Regions from separate parts of the Homo sapiens genome. Here all the other regions are linked to region 1. Evidence: promoter capture Hi-C in human tissues and cell types (Jung and others, 2019). All regions are on one chromosome and are shown on one strand. Each heading gives the region's core, a stretch centred on a gene start or on the middle of the fragment in contact. The rest is flanking DNA. Distances are from core to core; before and after follow the strand shown.

What was found. The method cuts DNA at HindIII sites, captures the fragments that hold promoters and counts their contacts. A contact is called where the count stands out against the background at its distance.
Region 2: a contact is called between a fragment that was not itself captured here and the fragment with the promoter of RCAN1 in region 1, in 1 of the 25 tissues and cell types used here (lymphoblastoid cells).
Region 3: a fragment that was not itself captured here is called in contact with the fragment with the promoter of RCAN1 in region 1 in 2 of the 25 tissues and cell types used here (dorsolateral prefrontal cortex and lymphoblastoid cells).
Region 4: a contact is called between a fragment that was not itself captured here and the fragment with the promoter of RCAN1 in region 1, in 1 of the 25 tissues and cell types used here (lymphoblastoid cells).
Region 5: a contact is called between a fragment that was not itself captured here and the fragment with the promoter of RCAN1 in region 1, in 2 of the 25 tissues and cell types used here (lymphoblastoid cells and spleen).

Annotation. Positions count from the first base shown.
Region 1 is chr21:34,613,765-34,616,464 of GRCh38, forward strand. RCAN1 (regulator of calcineurin 1) reads right to left here and starts at 1,349. Exons shown (of 4, transcript NM_004414.7): 1 at 996-1,349. The coding sequence starts at 1,247. RefSeq lists silencers at 864-963, 1,154-1,583. The HindIII fragment of the contact is 10,572 bases long and covers 1-2,700 here.
Region 2 is chr21:34,022,342-34,025,041 of GRCh38, forward strand. The region is part of intron 2 of LOC105372790 (a long non-coding RNA gene); the gene reads left to right. Among named protein-coding and RNA genes, the nearest start is that of MRPS6, 50 kb to the right of the region's middle. The HindIII fragment of the contact is 5,384 bases long and covers 1-2,700 here.
Region 3 is chr21:33,950,532-33,953,231 of GRCh38, forward strand. The region is part of intron 2 of LINC00649 (long intergenic non-protein coding RNA 649); the gene reads left to right. Among named protein-coding and RNA genes, the nearest start is that of LINC00649, 21 kb to the left of the region's middle. The HindIII fragment of the contact is 6,850 bases long and covers 1-2,700 here.
Region 4 is chr21:33,997,033-33,999,732 of GRCh38, forward strand. All of the region lies in intron 2 of LOC105372790 (a long non-coding RNA gene), which reads left to right. Among named protein-coding and RNA genes, the nearest start is that of LINC00649, 67 kb to the left of the region's middle. The HindIII fragment of the contact is 3,518 bases long and covers 1-2,700 here.
Region 5 is chr21:34,058,272-34,060,971 of GRCh38, forward strand. No RefSeq gene overlaps it. Among named protein-coding and RNA genes, the nearest start is that of MRPS6, 14 kb to the right of the region's middle. The HindIII fragment of the contact is 6,965 bases long and covers 1-2,700 here.

The sequences.
Region 1 (2,700 bases), core at 99-2,598:
ATTATAAATAAATGACACTTACATACACCATTCTGTTTCACAGTGGTGTTGTATTGGCAGCAGCCTTCAACTATAGTTCATTGACAGCATTTGTGGACCCACAGCCAAGCGCTGAAAGCACTGCTTTTTTTGACAGCTGCTCTCCTAATGGGGCATCTCTCAAAGACCGGTTTCATTCTGTGACGCCCACGTTGTCCACATTTTATTCTGCACAATAACTGCAGATTTGAAATAAATTCTTCCTCCCCACCACCATTATTGATTACTCATACCTGCCCCTCACCCTCCAAAGTGTCTAAATTGTGTGGATTTTGCGGGGGTGGGGGGAGGCGGGGGAAGGAGTCGACTCCCCATGTACTGGGTGTCCCCGATGGCGGCAAGCCACACCTTCACACAAGGGGGCAAGGTTCTTGACTAAATATCCTAAAGGTCTGAAAGATGGTCCCCTTCCCCCCAACACAATTCCACCAAAACTGGCCAGCCGCTGGCTAATGAGCAACCACGGATCCTCACCCAAACATTGGCTTTTCTTCCAATAGTGCAGATTGGGAATGCAGGGACGTCGTCCTATTTATGAACACTGAGTCACGTCGCCGCTCAATGTCTGTTTCCTCCTCCCTAGGAATGAGGTGACCCCCTCCTCCAGCGAGTAAATGCGGGGCGATGGCGAGAGCGCAGGGGGCGGCGGCGCTGCCCCACCTTGGGGAGCGAATTCACCCCCCTAGTCGCACCAGCCTGGGCGCACACGGGGGCCGGGGCGAGCCTGTGGGACTCTGCAGTGAGCTCCGCGCGCCCCGGGGGTGCTAGGGGACCGGGACCCTCGGGGCGCCGTCCCCACGCCCCAGCCCTGACGGGTCCGCGGCCGAGCAGCCCGGGGGACGTCGCTGCCTCCCCGCCCCGCGCGCGGCCGGGACTGGGCGCTGCGACCCGCGCCGCCTCCTCGGGCAACAAGTGTCCGCCCTCCGCCCCGACGGCCCGCCCGGCGCGGTCCTCACCCGGCACAGGCCGTCCACGAACACGCGCGGGTCCAGGTGACAGGCGATGGTGGCGCTGGGCAGGTCCTGCAGGTCCACCTCCTCCATCTCGCAGTCAATGAAGCTCCAGTCGCCGCCGCCCTCGTCCGCCTCGGCCGCCCCCGAGAGGGGCGCGAAGGGCCGCAGCGTCACCCCGGGCCGCGCTCGCGCCTCGGCCGCCTCCGCCGCCTCCGCCGCGGCCCCGAGCTGGGGACCGGCCACGCCGTCCTCCATCCCCGCGCCCGCGCGACCCTGTGCGCCCCAGCGGGCTGCTCCGGGCTTGCGCGCCGGAGCCTCACGCGCTCCGGTCCGCGCCCGGCCGGCGGCTCCGCCGTTAACCCCCTCGGAATCGCGCGGCGGCAGGCGGCGGGCTGTCAGCAGTCTCCCAGCGACACGGCCTCCCAGCGCCAGCCCCGCCCGTCACCGTTCCGCGCGGGAGGGGCAGAAGCCCGGCGCGGCGACCGCCCCCCCAGCCCCTAGGGCCGGCCACCGGCAGATCCAACGGTGGCCCCTTTAAGGCCGGCGCCGGTTGGGTTATTGTACCCCGCCCTTCCAGGAGACGGGGCCAATAAAGGAACGGAATTCTCTTCACGTGACCTTCCTTCTGCCGCCCGAAGCCCGAAGCCTCAGGGCGGCCATGTTGGTTAGGGGCAAAGTCCTCGTCCCCAGTTCCGCTTTTCTGACAGCTGGTGCCAGCTGAAGGACGCCGGGCAGAGTCCTCGGCTCTTGGGCCCTTGGGGTGATAACTGGGGAGGCAACGTTTTTGTGGTTCCCATGCGGGGACGTTTTGAAGCACAGGGGCCCACTTTTGGGAATTTAAGCGAGACATAGTCTCCCTGTGGCTCTGTGGCCCCTGGCAAGTGGTTAGATGCTTACCGTATATTATCAGATATAGTCGCAATAAAGACTGAACTAGACCATGATAACAATGCCTTACTTTTCTATTTCAGCGTATTAGTCACTATACCATTGTGAAAATTTATGTAATTAGAAGTAATTTTTCTGAATTACCATTATATGCTATGTACAATAGGACATAACGAAAGAATTAAGAGATCACCCCTTTCCTTTGGGGAATAGCGGAAAAATAAGAGGACCTCAAGTGAGCAGACATGTCTCTTCCTGAAAAATAGAATTCTTTTTTGGACAGTATGATACAGTGAGAACTTGGGTCTGAATTTCAGCTTTGCTTTTTAACTACTTGTACAAATAAGCTGAATCTTAGTTTCCTCATCTGAAAAAAATGAAGACATATTACTAAGAATTCAGTCAGTGCTTAATAAATGGTAGCTGTTTATGCACTGGGTTCTTTGGAGGTTGTGAAATTACAGTTATATTTTTTCTTAGAGTAGGCTTACTCTCTAGTTAGGAAGTGTTAGTAATTATAACAAAAAGTATATCCAACAGCTGAGATTTATTCAGAACTTGCCATGTGCACGGTTCTATGATTACTATTATCATAGTCTTAGGACAGTTTGTGTCCTCAGGGAGCTAAACCCAAGAGGAATAATAATACCCATCTAGAGATAACTCATAAAATAGAATATGATATGAGGATGTGAAGAAATTGGAACCGTCATACTGTGAAAGGGAAATCTTGGGCCCCCAAAATCACTAAGGAAAACTAAAGCTGGAAGTTGCTTAGAGCCAACCAGCCTCCCATTCCATTCAAAGTCACCCCTCTGCT
Region 2 (2,700 bases), core at 111-2,610, 590 kb before region 1:
GGGTTTTTTTAATTAAAAATTTTGCTCACTTTTCAGAAACCAAAAGAGAAAACTATCACAGAAAATGTTTTTCTCTTCTGTTTGTTCTGTGTTTCAAGTACTATGTTTCTATCATGATTAAAGTCATTTTTTTTTTGTCAAAGAAGTCCAGCTGTTTGAACCATCTGAACCGGAAGAGTGGAAAGGAATTGAGGTGTTTCTCCCTCCTTCTAGAAAGTTAAGGGTAGCAGAATTTGAACACCACAAGCCTCAGAGAGAAGTGACAGAGGTGAGGACAGATGACCTAATTGGTTATTCCTAGTTATTAGAATTAGGCGGCTTATCTCTTTTTTCCTAAATGTTTATACCTATGGGAGAATTTTCCAGCTTCCTGGGAACACAATTTTTTTTCTTTCTCGAGAGAGATAAGTGTGTTTACTCTCTGCAGTATCTATTCAACTGCAAGGAAGTATTGCAGGGCAGAAGCAAGCTCTTCAATACAAAGCAGCTCATTTCAAAGCATCCAGGCTTACTTTTGTTGTCTGTGCCTATTCATCCTATAAACTGCTCTTCATCAAAATAGTTAACTCTCCCCTGTTCTGCCCCCATCCACTCTTGAGAATGAGGGGATGGCAGGAAACCATCAATACAAAAATCTATGTGGCAACAACAACCATTTGGCCTGTTGAGAGGTGCTTATGCAGAAAGAAACACAAGAAAACAAAGAGGAAGTGTGTGAACTTCTGACCCTCTTTGCCACATGCCATTTGGTGGGTGGGTGGCATGAGCAAGCATCCTGCAGTGGGTGTTTTTATGGGACCAAGTGACAAAGAGCCAAACAGGGTGAGAACTCATGAGTAGCAAGTGGAAAACTACCAAGAGCTGTCCCATCACTCCTGCAACAAACTTCACCTCGCTCAAGGGAGGGTAGCTGAGGCTCCCTTCTCCAAATCCTGCAAGACACAGGCACTCTGATGGGGCCAGCTCTTCACTGCATGGGAGGGCTTTTGTTGAACAGTGAGTTTCTGTGCCCCGCTCCCTTTTTGGCCCCTTTTGCCCAAGTGGAGTGACACTTTATCAATTGGGGGGGCAGGCAACGAATAGAGGATATTAATGATTGCTAACGGACCCCCATCTGCTGTTCCGCCTGCAGCTTTTATGAAACCCACATTTTAAAATTAACACATGGAAAAGACAGTCTTAGCTCAAAAGTGTCAGCTAGGAAAGGAATTCAATTGATCCCCACTCTGTAGTTGTCTGAGTGGATCTGCTAAATGTGGACTTGCAGGAGGGCAAGAATTGTTCTGAAAACTGATATGAGAACACAGGCCAGCCTGTGCAGTGGCTACATCAAGGAATTCCAGAAGGTTTTACCTTTGGATTTAAATGTTGGCTTTAGCATTTGGTGGAAGTTTTCTGGGGAGATGAGAATATGATAACTCAGGGAGGAACAGTAAAAATTGGCTGAGGACGGCTAATGCCCTGGGGTTAGTGGTTTGCGTTTTCTTAGAACATGCAGGAAGGCAGGGGGCTTTTCTAGAAAGCACTCTGGGTCTGAAGATGTGAGAGCTGTGATTGAGCTGGGTTTAGCCTTTATTGTGACACTCTGGGCAAGAAACTTAACTTTTCTGAGTGTCTGTTAAAAGGTGACAATAAGACCCACATCTCTCAAACGAGACAGTGGGTGAGAAAGTGATTTGTAACACAGGACATTACAATAAATACTACATAAATTTTTTGTATAATAAAACTTGTAAATAATGTAGGCTGTCAATGCATCCGTTTGTTCAAGGAACATATATCTACAAGGAGCTGTTGATATACAATAAATAACAGACTCAGTCTCTGTCCTCACAAAGTTTACAGTTGACACTCACACGCAAACACAAAAGTCCTTTAAAGTGCGGTAAGTGCTATGATGGGTAAATAAAGGCTTCATAGAAGTTTATAAAGATGACGCCTACCCTGGTCTTGGGAAATTTCCAGGAGGCTTCCAGGAGGGAGTAATGTTCAAGCCAGGCTTAAATGCCATCTCCTCGGTGAGGACTCTCATGTACTGCTTAGTTAAAAACTTAACCCCTTACCCTCCTGTTTTATTTTTCTTTAAAGCACTAGCGCTATCTGATGCACTCCCTGTATTCACTTGCTGATAGTTTGTGTCTGTCTCTCTTAACCAAAGTGGAAGCTCATGAAGTGAGATATTTTTCTGTTTTGTTTTCTACCGCATCCTCTGCGCCTAGGATAGGTTATGACACATAGCAGGCACTCAAGATATGTTTGTGGAATAAATGAATATAAAATGTAAGTGTGATTTGGGCAGCCAGGAGAGCTGGAAATAATATTCCAGGAGCAGAAAACCATAAGCAAAGACCAGGAGGCCAAGTGTAGGTGGCTTGGTTTGGCTGGAGTATTAACATGTGAGGGTGGAATATGGAGAGATCAGACTGGGGAAGTAGGTAAGGCCAGATGGTGAAGGGTCTTGTAAGCCAAGTTCAAGGGCTTGGACCTTATTCTGAGGGTTGTAAGGACAGTTGAAGTATTTAATATGGAAGTGATAAGATCTGAGTTTCCACACAGCTTGGGACAGGGAGACCATGGGGAAGCTTCTTTCCTAGTCGAGGAGCAAGACAATGATGACCTGAACTAGGACTATGGCAATGGGGAGAGGGATTAGAAGGGATTGGAAGGGACAGGCCCTGACAGTTGATTGGCAGTGGGGAA
Region 3 (2,700 bases), core at 9-2,508, 660 kb before region 1:
CACACCTACTGAAGGGTCCACTGAGACAGCAAAGCAGGAAGGGTGGAAAGGGTCCGCCAGGGGCAGTGCCTGACATGTGCTAGAGGTGACGTAGAATCTGGGATCAGCGACAAAAGATCACACCTAGAACCGTGGTCAAGGATGTGAGCCAGATTTTCTGGGGCTCAGTCCTGGGTTTGTCACTTAACTGTGTCACTTGGAGCAAGTCACATACCTCTGGCAGTCTCAGTTGCTCATCAGAAAAATGGGAATTTTATATATATATATAAAAAATATAATTATATATTTATTTATAATATGTGTATATATAATTATATGATTATAATAATCACAAATGGGATTATATATAATATATAATTATACATTAATTTATAATATATATTTATTTATAATATATGTGTGTATATATACGCATATATACATATGTATGTATGTCTATATCTCTATCTTTCGGGTTGTTTTGAGAATTAAATGACCTAACCCATGTAAAGCCCTGTGTACCGTGCCTGGCATGTAGGATACTTCATCACTGTCACCTGTTTTTGTTGTTATGACCTGAGCATCTCCCTGTTCACCAGCCCTTGTTCTTTAGCCACAGGTTGAAGATGACAGTAGATCCTAAGGAACCTCAGTTCTATCCCGAAATGCGAAGGCCTTTTTACTCAACCACAAAGAAGTGGTCAGCAGAAAACTGGTCATCCCGGCCTCTGGGGCCATGCACAGCACTCAGGAGGAGCTACTATTTTCCCTGCCTGTTTACATGCGGCCTGGGGCCTTGTGGGCTATTTGAAAATTAGGACACGAGAAGTCCAAGCAGCACCTGGTAATTAAACTGAGTCCTCTATCAGAGAGAGGCGTGACCTTGAAGGGCATCCATACAGGAGCCAGGGGCAAAGCAGAAGGTGGGAGGGATTCTCCAGGCTTGACCCTCTCAGCACATCTCAGTCAGGGGTGCCTGGCAGCCTAGATTCCAGCCCTGCCCAGTGCCACCCAGAGACCTGAGGGAGGTGGACAGCTGCTCAGCTGGGTGATGGGAGCCTCTAGAAATAGTTGTCAACCTCATCAAACCAGAGATGAGCCCTTAGGACAGCCAGGGTGTTGATTTCCAGCCAGGCAGGGCATTGGTTCTCCAGTGGGATGTGGACAAGGTTCACTGCAGCCTCTCAGCAGATGAACTAGGGGAGAGACACTACCCCAACCATGCTCCCCCGACCCTTCGGTGTTAAGTGAAAGTATCTTCCTTTTTTCTCTCTGCTCTCTCCGCTTTACAACAAAATATTATCTTTAGTCTGCAAAACCAGGGCCAGGAAGAATCTTCACAGCTAGACAGGGCCATGGAAAGATGATGAGGCATATCAGGAACTATGTAATCTTGTAATACTTCTGCTGCAAAACCTCCTGACGTTCTGAATGAACAGTCACATGCAGCCTCTTCAGTGCAAAACTGAGCTCATAAGAAAGTAAAGCAAATCTGTAGGGGCCAAATGAAGAGTGAACTGGAAGTCAGAGCTTCAAGTACATGACTGATGTGGTGTATCCCTTGGGGATGGGGGTGTACACGCTGGTTTTGGGAAGCAGGGCACTTGGGTTTGAAAGTTCATCCAGGACATTTGTGTGACTCTCAGTTTTTGAATATTGGTGAATAGTGCTGCTTAGAACATTCTGGTATGTGAGTTTTTGTTGCACATAAGGTATTTATGTTGAACAAATATTTAAGAGAAAAATTATTGAATTTAGGTATGTATAACCTCAGATTTGGAGAATACTGCTAAACAGTTTTTCAAAGTTGCTGTTCATTTTAAATAACAGCATATGGGCCAGGCACTATTGCTCATGCCTGTAATCCCAACACTTTGGGAAGCCAAGGCAGGAGGATTGCTTGAGGCCAGAAGTTTGAGACCAGCCTGGGCAATATAGTGAGACCCCATCGCTACAAAAAATTAAAATATTAGCTGGGCATGGTGGCGTGCACCTGTAGTTCCAGCTACTCAGGAAGCTGTGATAGGAGGATCACTTGAGTCCAGGAAATGGAGGCTGCAGTGAGCTTTGATCGCGCCAATGCACTCCAGCCTAGGCAACAAAGTGAGACCATGTATCAAAAAAAAAAAAAAAAAAAAAAGTCCAACAGCAATGACAACAGTGTAGGAGCATTCTAATTGCTCCACATCCTCAATTTGTATTGTCTTTTCCTCAGGCTTATTTTAATCACTCTGGTTGGATTTGCATTTCTTTCTTTCTTTTTTTTTTTTCTTGAGATGGAGTCTCACTCTGTCACCAGGTTGGAGTGCAGTGGCATGATCTCAGCTCACTGCAACCTCCGCCTCCCAGGTTCAAGCAGTTCTCTTGCCTCAGCCTGCTGAGTAGCTGGGACTACAGGTGTGTGCTACCATGCCCAGCTAATTTTTGTATTTTTAGTAGAGATGGGGTTTCACCATGTTGGCCAGGATGGTCTCGATCTCTTGATTGAGATTGTGATCTGCCCACCTCGGCCTCCCAAAGTGCTGGGATTACAGGTGTGAGCCACTGTGCCTGACCTTGGATTTGCATTTCTAGGATGATGAATGAGAGTGTACTTTCTCATATGTATTGTGGCAATTTGATACCTGCTTTTATGAAGTGTTTGTTCAAGTATTTTGCTCATTTTTTCTATTGGGTCATCTGTATTTTTCTTACTGATTTACAGTTTATACTTGATTTATA
Region 4 (2,700 bases), core at 188-2,687, 620 kb before region 1:
GACTTCTGGGCTGCCCTGATTTTACTCTTGTGTCAGCAGTCTGGGCCACAACTGCCAATTTCTAAAGGCCGAGGAAAGATAGTGATTGTCCCAAGGCAATGATGGAAGAGAAGAGTGGAACTCAAGTTGCTTTTTCTACTGTCTCCTCCTAGAGCAGCACCAGCTGGCTCATCCCAGGCTGCAACCCTTACCACTCTTACCACCATACACATGCAACAGTTTCTCTTTCAGTATTCTCACAGTTTTTCCGTTAGTTCCTGAATTTTGTGTTTTGTACCTCAATTAGGTTGACTCTGGGCAAGACGTATAATGGTTTATGTGAATTTTCCATCTTGGCAAAAATTGGAGTCTCAGCAGAGCAACCTTTGTAAGCCTGTTGTATTAGTCAGGCTTCTCCAGAGAAACAGAACAAATAGAATGTGTATATATTTATAGAAAGAGATTTATTATATGAAATTGGCTCATGAGATTATGGAAGCTGACAAGTCAAAAATCTGCAGGGTAGGCTGGCAGTCTGGAAACCCAGGAGAAGCAATGCTTTAGTTATAGTTCTAGTTCAAAGGCAGTCTGCAGGAGAACCAGGAGGTGCCAACATTGCAGATGAAGTCCAAAGGCCATCTGCTGGAGAATCCTCTCTTGCTCAGGTGAGGCCAGTCTTACTGCTTTCTATTCAGACCTTCAACTATTTGGAGGATACCCACCCACATAATGGAGGGCAATCTACTCAAAGTCTATGGATCTAAATGTTAATCTTATCCAAAACCAACCTCACACCCAGAATGGTGTTTGACCAAATATCTGGGCGCCCCATGGCCCAGTCATGTCAACACGTAAAATTAACTCTTACACCTGCTATTCCAAGTATGGTTTGAGGACCAGCATTGGCCTCACCTGGGAGCTTGCTAGAAATGCAGAATCTTGGGCCCACTTTTGCCAAGATGCCTGCATTGGAATAAGATGCGAATCTTTTCAATTTATTGAGCCAGAGCTTCATATCAGTAAAAATAAGAACTTTGGATTACATAAGAGATTCTCTGATTAATGTCCCTGCATGATCAGGGATCTTAAAAAAAAAACAATTACATAAAACTGCCTAGGCTCACCCCAGACCAATTAAAACCGAATCCCTAGAATAGGGCTCAGGCATCTCTTATCGTGTTTTGTTTTGTATTTTTTTTTTAAATCTATGCTGGTGAATCTGTTATCCACTGAAGGTGAGAATCTTCAGAGTTGTGCTTCTCAAACTACAATATGCATGCACATCACTTGGAGATCTTGTGAAAAATGCAGATTCTGGCTCATGAGACCTGGGAAGGCTGGAGATTGCATTTCCATCACTTCCTGTTTCAGGACCACTGTTGGACTTGGGAGATGCTAGACTGGATGACAGGTGAGATCCTTTGCAGTTCTGAACTGCTCTGATCCCTGAAACCAGGAGAGCTTCACAGGTTTGCCAAGGTGGGTTCCACCCAGGGACACACCTCTTAGTATCTAACCAGGAAATAAGGCCTCCCTCTCTGTGGTTTCCAGCATCTTCTGAACTCCTCAAGTCAAAGAAATCAGATGCCTTCCTGCTGCTGCTACCCACATGGAAACTAATACATTGCTCCTATTGAAAGCTTGGCTCTGTGCCCTGTGGCCAGAGTATAAGGCTCTAGAAGATATTAACTGTGTCCTCTGTGGGGATGGGCAGATTAAGAATGGTGATTTGGCATCAGAGTAACCTCATGTGGTGACTGAAAAACGTAAACTAATTGCAGACCAAATTTAAGATGGTCGTACCTGAAGCCTAAGCCGAGGCCTGAGCGGCACCCTCAAGAGTCCCCTCTTGTCTCCTCAGCTGGAATAACTTTTTCTCAACTGGTGGCTATCTTGGACGTTAGTTTAAAGCTCTGTTGTAATGTATGTCACCCTGACTGGAGTTCTAGGTATTTTGTTTCTTTTCTAGATTGAGATCTTTGGGGCAACCACTATGACTCTCTGCTTTCCTTCCAGTCCCTTCCACCACCCATCCCCAGCTGCGGCCAGGGCAGACCTTAGAAAACCTAAGGGGTTTTACTCCCCTGCTTGGAGCGCTCCAAGGAGGCGCTTGATGCTTGGAGTAAAATCTATACTCGTCCCCATCCTATCTAGTCCCTAATGACCCTGCAATGTCATCCTTCCCCACTGTCCCTTGTCACCCTGCTCCAGCCACACTGGCCTCTCCCCATGCAACAAGCCCACTCTTGCCTCAGGGCCTTCCCAGTTACTATTCTGCTTTTCTTTTTTTTTTTCTTTTTGAGGTGGAGTCTCGCTCTGTCGCCCAGGCTGGAGTGCAGTGGAGGATCTCAACTCACTGGAACCTCCGCTTCCAGGGTTCAGGCGATTCTTCTGCCTCAGCCTCCCGAGTAGCTGGGACAACAGGCGTGTGCCACTATGCCCAGCTAATTTTTGTACTTTTGGTAGAGACGGGGTTTCACCATGTTAGTCAGGCTGGTCTCAAACTCCTGATCTCAGGTGATCCACCTGCCTCGGCCTCCCAAAATGCTGGGATTACAGGTGTGAGTCTCTGTGTCAGGCATCCCAGTCACTATTCCTTCTGCCAACACACTCTTCCCCAGCTCTTCATGTAGCTGGCTGCTTCTTTTCATTCATCTCACAGCTTCAATGTCACTGCTTCCAAAGGAAGACCTCCCTTCTAAGTGGTCTTTCTCATGCCAA
Region 5 (2,700 bases), core at 3-2,502, 560 kb before region 1:
AACAAGAGGACAGGAAAGGAGACTGGGACTGGATGGCGTGGTAAGATAGGGACCTGGGCACAGGGATGGGTCACCAGTGTGTGTTGTAGCTGCTCTAGGCAGGGTAAATATTTCCCACCTGAGGAGGGAGAAAAATGCCAGTGGTGTTGCAATGTTACTGTTTTGCACAGCTGCGGACCCAGAAAAGGAGAAGGACACCCTTTCCTGCCCTACTCTAGATTAGAAGATTCCCGCTGTCTTCTATTCCTCCCCAGCTGTTTGTGTTTCAGGCCTTCTGAGGGGGATCATGCTGAAGGCACCTCCAGGGAGAGAGGATGTGGGGGGAGCAGCAATGGCAGAGACCTATGTCCCAAATGGAACCCATGGCTCCAAGGCTGAGGCTCCTCAAGCCTCCAGCTAGACCCCCTTTTTCCTCATCTCCCTCCCTGGGAACTCAACCTAGCCAAAGGCTTCAGGTACCACCCTCAGAGGGGGCACAGAGGTTGATATCCCCAGTTAAGTGGGGACAGCCCACCATCTAGAGCAGGGGTGTCCAATCTTTTGGCTTCCCTGGGCCATACTGAAAGAAGAATTGTCTTGGGCCACACATAAAGCATGCTAACACTAACAATAGCTGATGAGTTTTTTAAAAAATTGCAAAATAAACTCATAGATTTTAAGAAAGTTTACGAATTTGTGTTGGACTGCATTCAAAGCCATACTGAGACATCCTGGGCCACACTCAAAGCCATCCTGGGCTGCATTCGACCCATGGGCCATGGGTTGGACAAGCTTGATCTAGAGGAAATTCCTACCTTATTCTGCCAGCAAATATCTATTCATCACCCTCTGTGTCAGGCATTGTATCAGGGGCCAGGACCTTACCATGATTAGACCAAGGCCCTGTTCTCTGGAGCTTACATTCTACTGAAGCCTCACGGCACTGCAAACCCATTATGTGCTGCAGGCTAACACTGATGGAGCCGGGCACTGTGTTAGAGCCAAATTAGAGCTCCTTACATCCCTTCTGCTCATTAGGATCTGCTTCTTCTCAGCTCCTGGAGTGCCACTGAGCCTTCAAGTGGAGTCAGGTTTCCCCAGCTGTGGAAAGAGGGGACATCTGGGGAATAAGAGTCAAGCAGAGCTTGGTGATCTGAATCAATTTTTCTTTTAAAGCATTGGGCCTTTGTAGCAATAATGGCAAACCGCTATTAAGCACTTCCCACACTGCAGGCTGCACTGTACTTTCCGTGTATTGTGTGTGGTATATTGGACACGACCCTATGCCTTAGGTCTGATTATGTTACAGATGAGGAAACTGAACCACAGAGTTCAGTTACTTGTTCAAGGGTACACAGTCATTGGACACAGGCGGTCTGGCTTTGGCTCCATGCTCTTGACCACCAAGCTGTACTGCTGCCAACTAGCCACCTTTGGTGAGACCTGCTCTGCCTACAATTCTCTTGGATAGTTCTTCTCTTGGAAGCAAGAATTTGTATGCCATCACTGTACTCTCGTGGATTCAGATGGATCTGAAGATGGATGTCAAGTGAGATTCCTCCTCCTGATCAGAGATGGTGGTATCTGCTGTCACTTGAACTTGGCATGTGTGTCCTCAGGATACCTGGGCTATGGGCTAGCCATCTTCCATGGTGGGCATGTAGAGGCAGAGAGTGCTTGTCTCCAAACAGACAAGATGGCATGGGGAGGGTGGGGTGATGTCAGACACTTCATGAGCAGAGCAGAGACAAGATACATGTAGTCCCAGAGAAACCAAGGATGTCTTGTCTAGTTCCCCAGGAGCCCTGGATGTACGTTCTGTTACTGGATTCTAGGATGCACTCTTGAGTCCTTTGATACATCCTTGTTTTTACTTTTTTAATGTAATAATTACAAAATGATGGCCAATGAGATTGGCGAAAATATAAAGAGTGTTGCAAATAGCACTCATTCAACGAATCCTAATCTTTCAGCAAAGAGATTAGCCTGGTGTGTGTATGTATGGGTGAAAGTGTGCATGTATTTGTAGGATCTGCCCACTCAAATCAGGTGATGAAAAGTTGACAGAGGTTTCAATTAAGATTGACATAAGGTGAAATTTGAAAGCCACCCAGAAAACACATGATACACTGTTATGAAACTAAATCCCAGGGCAAAGATGTGGGCACAGAGGGACTCTCTTGACACAGCTGACAAGTTCCAACTCTACTATTCCAACTCCAGTATTCATGGCTGCTCAGGCAAAATCATTCTGGAAGTACAAAGCACCTGTGTCCAGATTTGGTGTTTACTTCTCTACCAAGAACTTGAATTTGTAACTGAGTCAAGGTCCTGAATCTGCCACCAGTAGACTCAGTTCACTGGAGACAGCAACTCTCTTCCCCTCAGTTGGGTAAGGGACTTTGCAACCCTGGGAAAATGTAGAGACTAGTGTAGAATCAATGAGGAGCAGAATCAAAACCAGAATACTATCATATTTTACTGATTCTAAGGTGCACAGTGTTTTACATTTTACCATCTTGGGAATTAGAATGCATTTTACAATCGATGGCATCAGGCCACGCACAGTGGCTCACACCTGTAATCTCAGCAGTTTGGGAGGCTGAAGCAGGTGGATCGCCCAAGGTCAGGAGTTTGAGACCAGCCCGGTCAACATGGCAAAACCCTGTCTCTACTAAAAATACAAAAATTAGCTGGGCATGGGGTGGGCACCCTATAATG